2 separate regions of the Homo sapiens genome follow, and region 2 is linked to region 1. Evidence: promoter capture Hi-C in 16 types of primary human blood cells and fetal thymus (Javierre and others, 2016). All regions are on one chromosome and are shown on one strand. Each heading gives the region's core, a stretch centred on a gene start or on the middle of the fragment in contact. The rest is flanking DNA. Distances are from core to core; before and after follow the strand shown. Region 1 holds the start of EXOC3L1 (exocyst complex component 3 like 1). Region 2 overlaps CBFB (core-binding factor subunit beta).

Region 1 (5,492 bases), core at 1,415-3,914:
AATCCGCCGCTTCTGGCGTACAGCTAGGGTGTCAGCTGCCTGGCAGAGAGAATGGAGAATGCTCAGCCCCACTCTGGGGTGTACCCCCAGCCACCCTGAGACGTGGTCTGGGAAGGGAGTAATCTGGATTCCAACCCTGTAGTGCCTCCCAGGCGCTACTGCAGCTCAGGACCGCAGCTCTGTCCCATAGGCAGCTCTTCTCCTCGCCAGCCAGGAAGGGCCACGAGGACGAACACCTGCAGCCCGAGCCTGGCCCATAGCTGTAGCTCGATGGCCTCGGCCGAATGAATGAAACATCCCCCGGCTTCTCTCCTGTGAGAAAGCACACGATGGCGGCCGGCTCTCGGAGGACCCAGCTGGGCCGCCCCCGGGGTTCCCGCTACCGGCCCAGGCCTGGTCCACCAGCCTCCCTTGTCTCCCCTTAGCCCAGGCCGCACCAGCTTGAGGTCAAGCACGCCGTCCTTGGCCTCCTGCAGAAGGGACACGAACTTGGTGGTGAGCAGTCCCAGGCTCTTTTCGTGCCGGCTTGGAGTGCCCGGGGGCGGCGGCGCCTGTGGCCCGGCCTCCGCCATCGCGCCCGCCCGCCGCCTCCCCTCAGCCAGGCCAGGCCAGGCCGGCGCCGCCGCCACTTCCGCTTCCGTTCCTGGCCGCCGGGCAGCCGGAGCCAGCGTTACTGCTTCCGCTTCCGTCCCGTGCGCCTTCCAGGGAACGTGGCGCTATTGCTGTCTGTGGGTGCAGCCGCAAAACTTCAGGGACCAGTAGCAAATGTCCAGCCTCCGAATAAGACGAAAACTACCTGGGTAGACCGGGGAGTTGGGATGAAGTTGGGGAGGAATGAGAAGGGCGTCAGTGGGCCGCCCTGGCAGTAGAGAAGGGGACGCCATCGGAACTTTCCTTGCCAATCTGCCCCAACATCACTAACTCTGCCTAGTCCCCATCTTGGGAGAGGAGACCACACTACCTGACTAATCCAATCTGCTCCCTCAAACCTGTTCCTTTTCCATTTTTTTCTCTTTATTTATTCTTTTATATATTTCAAACTCATTTTACTGCCACATCAAACCTGTTCCTAAAGGCTGCCCTACTGTCTTGGGGTCACCCCATCTATTCCTATCCCTCACTTCCTGCCAAACAGCAAGCACTAACTATATCTACCTTGTCCACCTTGTTCCACCCATGGTCCTAGCCTCATCTTTCGCTCGTCTTGTCCTCACAGTACAGTGCTCAGAGACTATGGGGTTATGAACACTTCAGCCAATGCAAACGTGTTTACCTATGTGTAAATATCAGTAAAGCACTCAGTCATTCCTGGCATGCAGGAATGTGTGATACGGTCATTTTGTAACTTTTAACATTGTTACTATTTATTATTGTTTCTTTTAGATCAGGTCCTCTGGGAAATGGGACTCGAGATAGGGTTTTGCAGCAAGTTTGTTGGGGATCCACACTTTTTTTTTTTGAGACAGGGTCTCACTCTGTTGCCCAGGCCGGAGTGCAGTGGCAAGATCAATGCCGTCTCAGCTTCCTGGGCCCAAGCGATTCTCCCACCTCAGCCTCCCAAGTAGCTGGGACCACAGGCATGCACCACCATGCCCGGCTCATTTATTTTTAGTTTTTTAGAGATGTGGGTCTCACTATATTGCCCAGGCTAGTCTTGAACTCGTGGGCTCAAGAGATCCTCCCACCTCAGCCTCCCAGAATGCTGGGATGACCGGTGTGAGCCACCGCACCTGGTCAGGATCCACACCTTTAAGGGATTAAGACAAGCAGAATTGAGCAGATGCAATTATATTATAGGCCTCAGCCTATCCCACTAGGATCTCTGAAATTGGGGTAGCACTTCTGAAGGGTTCATGTTCACACGATGGTACCATGCTTTTGCACCCCAATATTGACTGAGAGACTCAGTGGTGTGATCTCAGTAGCCTACACTCCTGGCAGCTGGAGAATGAGCACTTCTGTCCTGAAGGGTGGATTTGGGTGGTGGACTGAACATCCACTAAATAATTACCACCTTATAGTCCCTTCCCTGGCTCCCTATAACTCTCAAGATAAACACAGCTGCCCAGTTGCGGTGACTCACGCCTGTAATCTCCCAACACTTTGGGAGGCTGAGGCAGGCAGATCGCTTGAGCCCAGAAGGCTGCAGTGAGCTATGGTGGTGCCACTGTACTCCAGCCTTGGTGACAGATCAAGACCCTGTCTAAAACAAAAAAGATAAACACAGCTTTCATGACCCTCTCCTACCACCCCCCACCACACCCCTCTTCACAAGAGCCTGCCACCTCTCACTCCTCCGCAGAGGTACACATCCTCCTCAGAGGCTGGCCAACACAGTTTTCATCCTGTGCTGTTGATGTCGTCTGCATCCATATCTGCACACTCTGCCCACCACCCCAGGTTGAGGCCAAGTCTAGCAAATCCCTATCTCCTCTCCTGAGCACTAAGAGGTTCTGGGTAGGCTGGTCAAGACTGGTTGAGTACAAGTACACCCCACCCCCCCGCCCCTCAGGGAAGTGTCGCCCAGCTGTCCCCACCCTCTGTGCAGACACTCTTTCCTGTTGGGAATAAAATGCCAGAGACTCAGCTTCCTTCCTTTCTGTTGATGGCCTTGGGGAGGGAGGAGCCTCGGTGGGAAGAAGGGGCTTCTGGGTGGGGAGTGGGAGAGAGACTTCCTTGGGGAGAGGAATTCAGCTGCACGCTGGAGTCAGCTGGAGTTGCCCAGGCCCTGTGAGCAAGTGGCAGGCGTGCCCAGCTGCATTGGGGAGAGGGCTGTTCTCAAGGCCAAGGTCATTTTTGGAGGGAGAACTGGACGCCTGATCAAATCTGGTAAGTTCTGTACCAAACTGTCCTGTGCAGCTCAGAGCAGGACCAGGGTCCAGTGGAGGCCTGTGCCCACTCTGTCTCGCTTGACATCTGCAGGGGCACGACTGGGAAACCTAGCAGGCAAAGCCTCCCAGGTGCCCTCCGCATCACACCCGCTCCCTCTCACTTCCCGAGGGGGCCGGGAAGAACCTCCTTCCTCCTCTCAGAAGGGCTTAGACAGAGGCAGCAGCTCACAGGGGCATCTACTCTGCCTGCTTGCCCCGGGCCCACCTCAGCTCTGGCTCCTCCAGGCCCACAATGGACTCAGCAGCCAAGGATGAGATGCAGCCGGCGTTGTCCCCTGGTATGAACCTTTTGGGTGGACTAGGGGAGGAATGATGGCAACAAAGATGGGACTGGCTGGGCGCAGTGGCTCACGCCTGTAATCCCAACACTTTGGGAGGTCAAGATGGGCAGATGACCTGAGGTCAGGAGCTCCAAACCAACCTGGCCAACATAGTGAAACCCCGTCTCTACTAAAAATACAAAAACTAGCTGGGCGTGATGGCACGCGCCTGTAATCCCAGCTCCTCGGGAGACTGAGGCAGGAGAATCGCTTGAACCCGGGAGGCGGAGGTTACAGGGACCCGAGATTGCACCACTGCACTCCAGCCTGGGCAACAGAGCGAGACTCCATCTCAATAAACAAATAAACAAACAAATAAATAAATAAATAAATAAATAAGAAAGCTGGGACTGGGGTCGTTGGGCCCTCCTCCCTGACTACACGGCTGCCCAGGCTCTTCCTTCCCAGGACCTGAGTGGCCAGAGCAGGAGCGGGCAGAGCAGCTGGCCCGGGGTGCAGCGCTCAAGTGGGCCTCAGGCATCTTCTACCGGCCGGAGCAGCTGGCCAGGCTAGGCCAGTACCGCAGCCGCGAGGTGCAGCGTACCTGCTCCCTGGAATCGCGCCTCAAGGTGGGCATGGGGCAGGGGGTGCGGGTGCTGGGACTGTGCTGCAGGGCTGGCCCAGCCTCATGGCTCCATCTTTCCACAGTCAGTGATGCAGTCATACCTGGAAGGCGTGCAGACTGGTGTGTGGCAGCTGGCCCAGGCCATTGAGGTGGTGCAGGGAACCCGGGAGGCCCTGAGCCAGGCCCGTGGGTTGCTCCAGGGCATGTCCCAGGCCTTACAGACTCTAGAGCCCCTACGGGAGCGGGTTGCCCAGCACAAGCAACTGCAGGCCCTGTCTCACCTGCTGCCTCGGCTGCGGGCAGGTGAGCATGCAGGGACCCTGGGCCTCAGCCTCCAATAGTCAGTCCACAAACACCCATCCCTAATCAAGGGGCTGGGGCACTAGATGGGGAACTGCATAGAGCAGCACACCAGGGACCTCCCAGACAGTAGCCCGGGCTTCCCATGGCCTATGAGGCAGCTCATCCTGGGATTCCCACGTGTGGGATGCTTGAGTCAGGACAGACACCCAGTCATGTGACTCTGGCCACCTGGTTATCAGTATATTCAAACTCTTCCCTAACAGAGTGGCTGAGCGAGTACTGGCAGGACCCCCCGATTTCCCCTGCCTTCCCTCCAGGATCCTCAGCTTCCTCATATTCCATGAGTTCATGGGTTGACCTCTGGCCCACCAGGTCTTTAGGACATTGCCAAGATCCTCTTAGATTGGCCAGTACTCTACTGGTTATTTATTTATTTATTTATGGTTTTTTGTTCATTTTTTGTTTTGTTTTGTTTTTGAAACAGAGTCTCACTCTGTCACCCAGGCTGGAGTGCAGTGGTGTGATCTCGGCTCACTGCAACCTCCATATCCCAGGTTCAAGCAATCCTCCTGCCTCAGCCTCCCCAGTAGCTGGGATTACAGGCATGTGCCACCATGCCTGGCTAATTTTTGTATTTTTAGTAGAGATGGGATTTCACCATGTTGGCCGGGCTGGTCTCAAACTCCTGACCTCAAGTGATTCACCCACGTTGGCCTCCCGAAGTGCTGGGATTACAGGCATGAGCCACTGTGCCCAGCTTACTCTACTGGTTGTTAAATATTTTATGCATCACCCCCGCCCTGGGCCTCAGTATCCCCTGCTGTACACATTGAGGCGGTGGGAAGGCTGAGACCCAGGGCCGTCTCCTTTTCACTCTCATTAGTGCCGGCTGCAGTGTCCCACACACAGACTCTGATTGATGGCCAACAGTTCTTGGAGGCATATGTGAGCCTTCGGGAGCTGGAGCAGCTGCGAGAGGATACGTGGGCACCCCTGGGGGGCCTGGAGTTGCCAGTCTTCCAGGGGCTGGACCTTCTGTTCGAGGCACTGGGCCAGGCTGTGGAAGCAGCTGCAGGGGCCGCAGGGAAGCTGGCACGGGAGGACCCAGCCCTGTTGGTGGCTGCTGTGCGTGTGGCGGAGGTGGAGACTGGACGAACAACCCCCCTGGGCCAGGTCCCCCGGGACTGGCGTCAGCGCTGTCTGAGGGCACTACAGGAGGGCCTGGAGCAGGCCCACTTTGGGTCACCTCTGCTGCCTGCACCAGGGGCCCTACCAGGGTGGCTGGAGGCTCTGCGAGTGGCCCTGCCAGTCGAGTTGGCCACAGCTGAGGCACTAGTAGCGCCTTGCTGCCCGCCACAGTACAACGTGGTCCAGCTATGGGCCCACACGCTGCATAGTGGTTTGCGCCGCAGC
Region 2 (5,123 bases), core at 194-2,693, 150 kb after region 1:
ACACAAAAATTAGCCAGGTGTGGTGGCGGGTGCCTGTAATCCCAGCTACTTGGGAGGCTGAGGCAGGAGAATCGCTTGAACCTGGGAGGCGGAGGTTGCAGTGAGCCAAGATTACATCACTGCACTCCAGCCTGGATGACAGAGCAAGACACTGTCTCAAAAAAAAAAAAAAAAATGTAGAAAGTAGAAGGAAGGAGGGGAAGAGTGAAGGATGCTCTTCTCAGACATATTATTTCTGCCTTCTCTCACTTGGAATATGTAATTCAGGAAAGGTCATGAAAGAGAATTTCACCTTTACACTAAAATGGAAATAATGCAATCCAAAAGAAGAGAAAACGGGACTTCACAATCTTCAAGTGCTTCAGAGGTGCATTTACCATGTATGCAGATTCACGTACTCTAACTGGAAGGTACTATGACATACTAATTTTAAAACATTTTAATTTTTTTTTTTTCAGACAGAGTCTTGCTCTGTTGCCCAGGCTGGAGTGTTGTGGTACAATCTCAGCCCACTGCAACCTCCGCCTCCCGGGTTCAAGCAATTCTCCTGCCTCAGTCTCCCAAGTAGCTGGGATTACAGGCACATGCCAGCATACCTGGCTAATTTTTTGTATTTTTAGTAGAGGTGGGGTTTCATCACGTTGGCCAGTCTGGTCTCGAACTCCTGACCTCAGGTGATCCACCTGCCTCGGCCTCCCAAAGTGCTGGGATTACAGGCATGAACCACCCCACCTAGCCAAAACATTTTAATTTTTTCAGAAAGTCGACTTCCTCTCTTAGATTGAAAAATAACTAAAATAACTAAAATAAAAACTTTTCTTTAAAAATACAAACGCTCTGCCAGCTACAAAGGTGTCAAATATATATATATATATAAGCTTGCAGTTACCAGTTCTAAATTTTATGATTCCGTTATTATTAGAGTATTATAGTTTATCTAAAGCATATTTTTAAAAACCAGATTTCAATACACTAAACTGTCAATAACTAAGTGCTGTCAATTCATATTTTAGTCGAACTGAAATACTTAAAATCCAGATGTGACAAGGTATTTGTAAAGTTGTCTAATTTCTCTTGAAGAAAATCACACTCCAAAGCTTTACCATAGAGATCTTTTATTTGGAATGACTGGGCTATCTACAGAGAAGGAACTTCTTGAGCTTAAATAGGGATTTCTCAAAGCTAACATCAAGAAGTCCTGTAAACTCTGCCAAATTGTGGATGGTATATAAACAAACACAATATGTATTTTGGGACAAAGATCCTGCAGGCAAGTGCGTAAATGGTACCAGAAGAAGCAGAATCATAGACCTTTATTAGAAAAGGCCATTTAAAATAAAATTCTGTCCTCACTCATTAAATCCAATCTTGTTAGATTTTGCTTTATTTTATGCTCATAAAAATAAATTAAAAGACTTTTAAGTATAAAGTCCAGAAAGAAAAAAAATACAACTTATCAAAATTTTTAAAAGTAGCTACTCTAATGACATATACTTAATAAATACTTCTCGATGTCTGACATTAATGTATTTGACTATCAATTAAAATCATAAGCTATAAACAAGAATGTAACAACCATAGAAAAGTTTAACCTCTCTTTTTCTGAGGTCAATGTGGTAAAAACGAGATAGCATATTCAATTTCCACAGAAAAAAATGAACAGTAGCACTGTAAAGTTCATTTTTTTCCTTTTATGAAATGATTTTCATACCCCTTATCTTTAAAGTCATAAACTGGGATCGCAAAGTAAGTACATCCAATCATTATTTCAAAATCCCAATGAAGCTTTATGAGACACAGAATACATGTAAAAACCATTAATCTGACCACTCAAGACTAATAATTTATGGTCAACCATAATCACTTGCATTTATTTGAAATAAAAGTAATTGGAAATAAGTCCTAAGAGGAAAGATCAAAGGAACTGGAGTTGCCTGGTCTACACAATTTTAACTTAAGAATGATTTAAATTCTGATTAGTTGCTTTTCCCTTGTCTTTTGACAGCTAGATTAAAGAATTAAGAACATTTTGGCTGCCAGTGTTTGTAACACACCAGGATGGAACACTTGGGAAAGATGTAGTGTTCCAACATTGTTCAACTACCTGACGTGAAGCTTACCTAAGGCACACTGTAGCACAAACACTCTATCAATCAGTTAGCTATAATCTCACCCTACAGAACCATCAAATTGCCTAACTGTAGACAGGGGTTTACAATTTAAAAGGCATTTTCACATATTCTGGTACTACATTTAATTCTCACATGAGGCACATGAATAGGGCAGACATTCTGATCCTCATTTACATGTTAAGGAAAATAGTTATGACTGTCTTGACTCAAATCTAGAGCTCTTTCTATTATACTGTTATTAGTTTAAATCATTTCTGAGAAAGATCCTTATTAAGAGCCAATGTAGACAGCTCACCAGGTACCTGGGTATAAAAGTTTCAAATATATTTGAAGGATTATAAAATTCTGTGCTCTGACTTGGTCATATGTAAGGTATATACTTATAATCAGTCACCCGTTAACAGACCTTCCTTATAGAAGCCCTTGATTTGAAAATATTCTATAGCCACATAAGCAACAGAATGAATAAAAGGACTAATTTCTATGAGCCCATTTTCTTAAATCATAAAACTGTATTTCAAATAATAGAGAATATAGAGCTTTTTGTTTCCGCTCTATTAGGATTCTAATTTTTTCTGAGTTCGCTAAATTTAAGTGAGTATTATTGTAGCTGGCCTCCAAGATGGCCTCAATGATCCCAGCCTCCTGGTATTCACACCCCTGTGTAATCCCTCCCTCCCTGTTGAATGTGGGCTAGACTTAGTGACCAGCTTCTAATGAACAGGCTAAGCAACAAGTGACTCAAATAATAGATCATAAAAGGTATGAAAGTGACTTGAAGAATGGATCATAAAAGGCATGGTGGACCAGGCGCAGTGGCTCACACCTGTAATCCCAGCACTTTGGGAGGCTGAGGCAGGCAGATCACCTGATGTTAGGAGTTTGAGACCAGCCTGGCCAACATGGTGAAACCCTGTCTCTACTAAAAGTACAAAAATTAGCCACATGTGGTGGCATGTGCCTGTAATCCCAGCTACTTGAGAGGCTGAGGAAGGAGAATTGCTTGAACCCGGCAGGCAGAGGTTGTAGAGCTGAGATTACGCCACTGCACTCCAGCCTGGATGACAGAGCAAGACCCCGTCTCAAATAAATAAATAAATAAATAAAAGGCATGGTGGCTTCACTCTTTTTCTCTCTATGGAGAAGCATGACTAGGAAGTGAAGCCACCTACCAACAGGCAGATCCTTCAGTTCTAGTCAAGTCTTCAGAGACTGCACAGTCCCAGGCAAAAGCTTGACTGCAACCTCATGAGAGACACTGAGGCAGAACCACCCAGTGCAGTCAGTCCCAGGTTCCTGCAAAGGGGCACAAGGAAACCTTTGGGGGGGTGACTGAAATATATCTTGACTGTGGTAGCATCTACATGGGTGCATACATTTGTTAAAACTCAGGCTGGATGCAGTGTCCCATGCCTGTAATTCCAGTACTTTGGGAGGCCAAGGTGGGAGGATTGCTTAAGGCCAGGAGTTAGAGGCCAGCCTGAGCAAAATTTTTTTCTCTTCAAAAAAATTTAAAATTAGCCAGATGTGGTGGCAAATATCTGTCGTCCTAGTCAGTCAAGAGACAGAGGCAGAAAAAATAATGAAACACTTAGAAACAAATGATTTTTTAAAAAGCCTGGGCGTGGTGGCTCATGCCTGTAATCCCAGCACTTTGGGAGGCCAAGGCAGGAGGATCACTTGAGGTCAGGAGGTCGAGACCAACCTAGGCAATATAACAGAACCCCATCTCCACAAAAAATACAAAAATAACTTCAGGCATGGTGGTGCTGGGGTTACAGGTGAGATGCTGTGGTCCCAGCTACACAGGAGGCTGAGGTGGGAAGATCACCTGAGCTTGGGACATTGAGGCTGCAGTGAGCCATGACGGCGCCACTGTACTCCAGCCTGGCAACAGAATAAGACCTTGTTTTGTCAGGGGTAAAAAAAAAAAAAAAAAGAAGGGCAGGAGGATCTCTTGAGCCTAGGAGTTTGAGGTTTGAGGTTACAGTGAACTATGATTGCACCACTGCACTCCAGCCTGGGTGACAGAGTGAGACCCTCTCTCTTAAAAAAAAAAAAAAAAAAAAAAGTAAAGAAACAAGCTGCAATAACAAGCTCCCACCACAACCTCACATGCGCTAAACCAACCTAACCTGCTGTTCAAAATTGTTCCAGCCAGTTTTCCCATCCCGATGACAGTAACCCCATAGTCCCAGTTTCTCTAGCCAAAAAGTTGGAGTCATTCTTTTTTTTTTGAGATGGAGTTTCACTCTTGTTGCCCAGGCTGGAGTGCAGTGGCACGATCTCAGCTCACTGCAACCTCCCCTTCCCGGGTTCAAGCAATTCTCCTGCCTCAGCCTAAGTTAGAGTCATTCTTTATTCTTCTCTTTCTCACACGCCATATCTAATCCATAAGCAAATCCTATTGGCTCTATCTCAAAATACATCCAGGATATGACCATTTCTCACTACCTCTACTGCTACCACCCTGGTCTCTCACCAAGATTACTGCAATAGCCTGCTTCACTTTTGCCCCCTATAACCTATTATTAACCTAGCAGCTAGCATGAGTCTGTCAAAACCTAACGTAGATAATATCATTCATCTGCTCAAAAGCCTGAGCTAGGTGCAGGAGCATGCCTTTACTCCCAGCTACTTCGGAAGCTGACCAAGAGCATAACTTGAGTCCAGGAGTTTGAGTCACCCTGGGCAACATACCAAGACCCTGTCCCTAAAATATAAGCAAACTAAACACTCAAAACTATTCCCCATCTCACTCAGAATAAAAAGCCCATGTGGTTACAATGGCCTACCATGGTCACATGAACTGGCTCATTGTTATTTCTGATTTCATCTACTACAACTTCTTTCACAGTCTACTCCAGCCACAATGGCCTGCTTGCTGTTGATCAAAAACAGGGTGCCACTCTGGGGCCCTTTATAATGGCTGTTTCCTTTGTCCGGAACATCTCTCCTCCACCCCCAACCCCTGCAGGGCTCATCATTCCC

Evidence for each region. The method cuts DNA at HindIII sites, captures the fragments that hold promoters and counts their contacts. A CHiCAGO score of 5 or more calls a contact.
Region 2: a contact is called between a fragment that was not itself captured here and the fragment with the promoter of EXOC3L1 in region 1, in 1 of 17 cell types (total CD4 T cells). The highest score is 5.1, in total CD4 T cells.

What each region holds. Positions count from the first base shown.
Region 1 is chr16:67,187,308-67,192,799 of GRCh38, reverse strand. It overlaps EXOC3L1 (exocyst complex component 3 like 1), which reads left to right and starts at 2,664. Exons shown (of 14, transcript NM_178516.4): 1 at 2,664-2,829; 2 at 3,117-3,169; 3 at 3,620-3,780; 4 at 3,860-4,079; 5 at 4,963-5,492. The coding sequence starts at 3,124. E2F4 (E2F transcription factor 4) reads right to left here and starts at 645. Exons shown (of 10, transcript NM_001950.4): 1 at 438-645; 2 at 1-39. The coding sequence starts at 572. RefSeq lists a silencer at 404-593 and enhancers at 684-823, 1-922. The HindIII fragment of the contact is 15,341 bases long and covers 1-5,492 here.
Region 2 is chr16:67,040,849-67,045,971 of GRCh38, reverse strand. The region is part of intron 3 of CBFB (core-binding factor subunit beta); the gene reads right to left. Among named protein-coding and RNA genes, the nearest start is that of CBFB, 14 kb to the right of the region's middle. The HindIII fragment of the contact is 688 bases long and covers 1,100-1,787 here.